2 separate regions of the Homo sapiens genome follow, and region 2 is linked to region 1. The links are contacts of gene promoters, found by promoter capture Hi-C in human tissues and cell types (Jung and others, 2019). All regions are on one chromosome and are shown on one strand. Each heading gives the region's core, a stretch centred on a gene start or on the middle of the fragment in contact. The rest is flanking DNA. Distances are from core to core; before and after follow the strand shown.

What was found. The method cuts DNA at HindIII sites, captures the fragments that hold promoters and counts their contacts. A contact is called where the count stands out against the background at its distance.
Region 2: a contact is called between a fragment that was not itself captured here and the fragment with the promoter of AQP11 in region 1, in 1 of the 25 tissues and cell types used here (small bowel).

What each region holds. Positions count from the first base shown.
Region 1 is chr11:77,588,552-77,591,251 of GRCh38, reverse strand. AQP11 (aquaporin 11) reads right to left here and starts at 1,299. Exons shown (of 3, transcript NM_173039.3): 1 at 641-1,299. The coding sequence starts at 1,259. RefSeq lists a silencer at 1,323-1,952. The HindIII fragment of the contact is 8,161 bases long and covers 1-2,700 here.
Region 2 is chr11:77,325,287-77,328,034 of GRCh38, reverse strand. All of the region lies in intron 14 of PAK1 (p21 (RAC1) activated kinase 1), which reads left to right. Among named protein-coding and RNA genes, the nearest start is that of GDPD4, 25 kb to the right of the region's middle. The HindIII fragment of the contact is 3,689 bases long and covers 1-2,748 here.

The DNA.
Region 1 (2,700 bases), core at 50-2,549:
TTAAAAAGCATCTTTAATTTGAAGCAAGTTATCATTTAAACATTTTTCTTAATAGGTCACTTAAAAGTTCATGTATAACTCAAAATGAATTATTAAGGAAATAAGAAATTTCATAACTCAAAATGAATTATTAAGGAAATAAGAAATGACTTTAAATCATTTATAGGACTAAAATGGAACTACAAAATTTCTACCCTCCGCTCTTATACTAACCAATCATGTGCCTTGTGCTTTAAATCGAAAGGAACTTTGTAAAGCCAGGATCATTTTTCAGTAAGAGTATCCGAAACGATCTATACCACCTTGGCATGAAGAAAGAGGCAGTTAATAAGTTATCTTTCCTTTCTACCATTAAAACAATCCCTTTGTAGGATATCTGAACCCTTGGCAATATCTCACAGTATCTCAGTTTCAGCACAGAGGTGGCTCCTTTCTCTGGGTGTTCAAAGCAGCACTGCATGAAGGCTCTACGTGTCGGCCCTACTGGTTAAGAACGGGCTGCAAAATGGTTAGAATAACGGGGATACCAGCATTTACATCATAGCGGGATAGACGGTTTCAAATGTATTTTAGTAAAGAACTTACAGCCTCATGTCATAGAGGCTCTGGAAGTGCCAAGTATTTGGTGAGAATGACAAACCTGCATAGACCAAAAAGGTGATGAGTGCAGCCAGCAGGTGGATACGAAGCTTGGTTCGGACTTCCTGGAAGTGCAGCAGAGCGCTGTGGAAGAGAAAGGAGCAGACGGCCTCTGTGATGACCGCTTTGAGCAAGTCGACTCGGATGGGATTCTTGCAAGCGAAGCTCCTCTCGCTGACGTGATACTGGGTCAGACCCAAGCTCCACAAGGCGCTTGTGCAGTACCTGCTGCACAGGGCACTAACCAGCTGAGCCAATAGCCTCACCGCACCCGTCTCGGGGGACATGCCCCCCAGCATCATCTGCATCATCACGCCGCACGGGTTGCTGGACGTGCCCACCAGAGTCAGGCCATGCACAAGCGAGAAGAAGTAGACGAGCGTCAGCGTCCAGGTGGGGTGCGCGGGGTGCTGTTCGCTCAGCAGTTGCAGCTCGTGGGTGCAGCAGCAGAGCTGGAAGGTGGCTAGAAACTCCAGGACGAAGGCGTGGGCCACCGGCCTGTGCAGCTGCTGCCGGGCGACTACGCGGGCCAGCCCCATGAGCAGCACCACCGACAGCATCAGTCCCAGCGAGGTGCAGGTGTCCTGCAGCTCGGACCGGAGCCCCAGCAGCGGCGACATGGCTCCGTCGCCGCCTGAGCGGGTTGCGGGCTCCGGCTCTGGGTAGGAGGCGGTCTCCAGGCCCGAGTCCGAAGTCCGCAGCCCCTCCCCTCCTCACGCCCCTCGGGGCGGGACGAGCGGGAGGCTCCCGAGCGGCACACTTAAGAAGTCCTCCCCGCCTCCCCGGCTTGGCGCTGGGGTGTTGGAACCAGAGCCGAGGAGGCGGGGAGGCGGGGAGGCGGGGAGGCGCGGGGAGGCGCGGGGAGGCGAAGGGAGGTAGCCTAGGGCGCCGGCCGCAGGGCCAACGGTCAGCCGAGCCCACCGCGCACTCACCCTCCGCAGTCTCCCTCAGGGCCTTGTAGGCGGGCGCGGCGGCGGAGGGCCGGCGCGGCGCGGTCGACGCAGCGCTCTTGGTGCCCACTGCGCACGCGTGCTGCGGCCCTTGCGCCCCTGCGGGCGGTGACACCCGGACCACGGGGCGGAGAGGAGCGGCACGGCGCGGCGGAGCTCTGATGGTTGCTTTGCAGCGAGGACCTTAGAGTTTTTCTTTCCCCGCTCCACACTGTAAAACCGTGGAGCTGGAAAGACCGCTGAAGGCCATCTCACATAGCCACCTCGTTTTTATCAATGGGCGACTGAAATTGAGAGGGGAGACGCGGCGCAGGGGGCGGGTGAGTTAGTGGGCGTAGACCGGTGCGCAGGGCCTCCTGGAGCCTTGCTTTTCTTCACCTGCCAAAAAACATTTCTAAAAATGGTGGTAATATATGCCAGATAAAATTCGCCACTTTAATCAATTTAAGTGTATATTTCAGTGGCATCGATTACCCTCACAGTGTTGTTCAACAGTCACCTCTTTTTTCCAGAACTTGAGCGGTGATTCTTCAAAGTGTAGCCTAGTTTTAGCATGTGACTGTCTATAACCTTTGGCATGAACTCTTTACGTATAATATGAAACAGTTGTGTCTTACTGTTACATGCACTCTTCGTGAAGAGGAAACAACAGGTAACTGGAGAGGTCTGTTTCCAAGAACTGGGGGTCCTGGCGCACCTCTTCCATCTGCTTTGAAAGCAGGAATACGGCTGCGTGAGGTGGAGCGCGTCCGGAGTCCCAGCACGGAGAGGCTTAGGTGGGAAGACCGCTTGACCCCAGGAGTTCCAGGCTGCAGTGAGCTGAGATCGCGCCACTGCACCCCTGCCTGGGCCACAGAGCGAGACGCTGTTTTTAGAAACAAAAACAACAACAAAAACCGGGCGCGGCTGGGCGCGGTGGCTCACGCCTATAATCCCAGCACTTTGGGAGGCCGAGGCGGGCGGATCACCGGAGGTCGGGAGTTCGAGACTAGCCTGACCAACATGAGAAACCCCCGTCTCTACTAAAAATACAAAATTAGCCGGGCATGGTGGCGCATGCCTGTCATCCCAGCTACTCGGGAGGATGATGCAGGAGAATCGCTTGAACCCG
Region 2 (2,748 bases), core at 150-2,649, 260 kb after region 1:
TTGTCTCTTTTGATCTTTGTTGGTTTAAAGTCTGTTTTATCAGAGACTAGGATTGCAATCCCTGCCTTCTTTTGGTTTCCATTTGCTTGGTAGATCTTCCTCCATCCCTTTATTTTGAGCCTATGTGTGTCTCTGCACGTGAGATGGGTTTCCTGAATACAGCACACTGATGAGTCCTGACTCTTTATCCAGTCTGCCAGTCTGTGTCTTTTAATTGGAGCATTTAGCCCATTTACGTTTAAAGTTAATATTGTTATGTGTGAATTTGATCCTGTCATTATGATGTTAGCTGGTTATTTTGCTCGTTAGTTGGTGCAGTTTCTTCCTAGCCTTGATGGTCTTTACAATTTGGCATGTTTTTGCAGTGGCTGGTACTGGTTGTTCCTTTCCATGTTTAGTGCTTCCTTCAGGAGCTCTTGTAAGGCAGGCCTGGTGGTGACAAAATCTCTCAGCATTTGCTTGTCTGTAAAGGATTTTATTTCTCCTTCACTTATGAAGCTTAGTTTGGCTGGATATGAAATTCTGGGTTGAAAATTCTTTTCTTTAAGAATGTTGAATATTGGCCCCCACTCTCTTCTGGCTTGTAGAGTTTCTGCTGAGAGATCAGCTTTTAGTCTGATGGGCTTCCCTTTGTGGGTAACCCGACCTTTCTCTCTGGCTGCCCTTAACATTTTTTCCTTCATTTCAACTTTGGTGAATCTGACAATTATGTGTCTTGGAGTTGCTCTTCTCGAGGAGTATCTTTGTGGCATTCTCTGTATTTCCTGAATTTGAATGTTGGCCTGCCTTGCTAGATTGGGGAAGTTCTCCTGGATAATATACTGCAGAGTGTTTTCCAACTTGGTTCCATTCTCCCCGTCACTTTCAGGTATACCAATCAGACGTAGATTTGGCCTTTTCACATAGTCCCATATTTCTTGGAGGCTTTGTTCGTTTCTTTTTATTCTTTTTTCTCTAAACTTCTCTTCTCGCTTCATTTCATTCATTTCGTCTTCCATCACTGATACCCTTTCTTCCAGTTGATCGCATCGGCTCCTGAGGCTTCTGCATTCGTCACGTAGCTCTCGTGCCTTGGTTTTCAGCTCCATCAGGTCCTTTAAGGACTTGTCTGCATTGATTATTCTTGTTATCCATTCATCTTATTTTTTTTCAAAGCTTTTAACTTCTTTGCCATTGATTCGAATTTCCTCCTGTAGCTCAGAGTAGTCTGATCATCTGAGGCCTTCTTTCAACTCGTCAGAGTCATTCTCCATCCAGCTTTGTTCCGTTGCTGGTGAGGAGCTGCGTTCCTTTGGAGGAGGAGAGGCGCTCTGATTTTTAGAGTTTCCAGTTTTTCTGCTCTGTTTTTTCGAGACAGGATCTCTCTCTGTTGCCCAGGCTGGAGTGCATGGCGCAATCATGGCTCACTGTAGCCTCAACCTCCCCAGGTTCTGCTGATCTTCCCACTTCAGCCTCCAGAGTAGCTGGGACTATAGGCGTGCACCACCATACCTGCCTAATTTTTCTATTTTTTGTAAAGACAGGGTTTTGCCATGTTGCTCAGGCTGGGCTCAAACGATCTGCCCACCACAGTCTCCCAAAGTGCTGGAATTACAGGCATGGCATCAGCCACCATGCCCATCCATGGAACATAAGTTTAGAAGATAATTAGTGAGTGTGGCTTTTGGAGTCTTTACACTTTATTCATTGGAAATCCTCAGATAATGGCAATGATACTCTACTTATTGAGAGTGAGATTTTGCCAGTTTGTGGGGAAACCCGGAGTCAGGGGTTTACTAGGCCTTTTATACTCCTGCCTGCCTAATCCTGATAATTTTATATGGTTGCAAAAATTGCCTTTAGCAGGCCGCATCATTTGTATTTAACATATATGTTTCAAGTACAATTTCTTATAACTAGTGTTCTTTTATTGTATTGCCCACTAGTGATCTAATAGTAAGTATCACATGCAACTTTATGAAGGCATGCACTGTCATTTGCTTTCGTATTATGAAGCCCAGAAGTGACAGAGCAGGGCAGGGCAGGGCAGGGCATACTGCCCTGTGTTAATTATGAATCTCTTTCCTATTGGATTATAACCTCTATTTTGTTAATCCCTGAGTCTCATGTTTTACCTAGGACTTGACTCAGGATAGGTACTCAAAATATATTTATTGAATTGAATGAAATTACTGGAAGAACCCACATTGGAATATCACCCTCTGGAACATACTTAGCATGTCTTTGTAATTGAGGTTACTGATTATGGCATACTGGCCTATTAGTTATGAGATCTGGGTTCTGCCAAGTATAACCCATTAGTCTCTAGTATCTGTTGGAACTAAAAGTCTCTTAGTACAATGTAGGACCCCTTTTGCTGTTCATGAGAGTTGTATTCTGGAAACTGTGGGCACTGGGAAATGTGTAAATACTATATGCTAAGCCTGCGATTAGTAAAGATACCATTCTTAATTAAATACCAAATTATAGTTCTTGAAAGGTTAGTGACCTCTAAAGTTTTCTTCCTGATATAGTAATATAACTAGTAATAAATGGGTTATATTGAATCTTTACCATATTTTAGGCACTAAACACTTTATATATTTAGGCACTAAGCACTTTATATATTGTCCTTTACAACAACTCTGTGAGTCATAGGTTCTATTCTCATTTTTACAGGTGAGAAAACTGAGGTTTCAAGTGTTTAGTAACTTTTCCATGATAGCTGGTAAGTAGCAGATCCAGGATTTCAGCCTGTTTGGCTCTCAA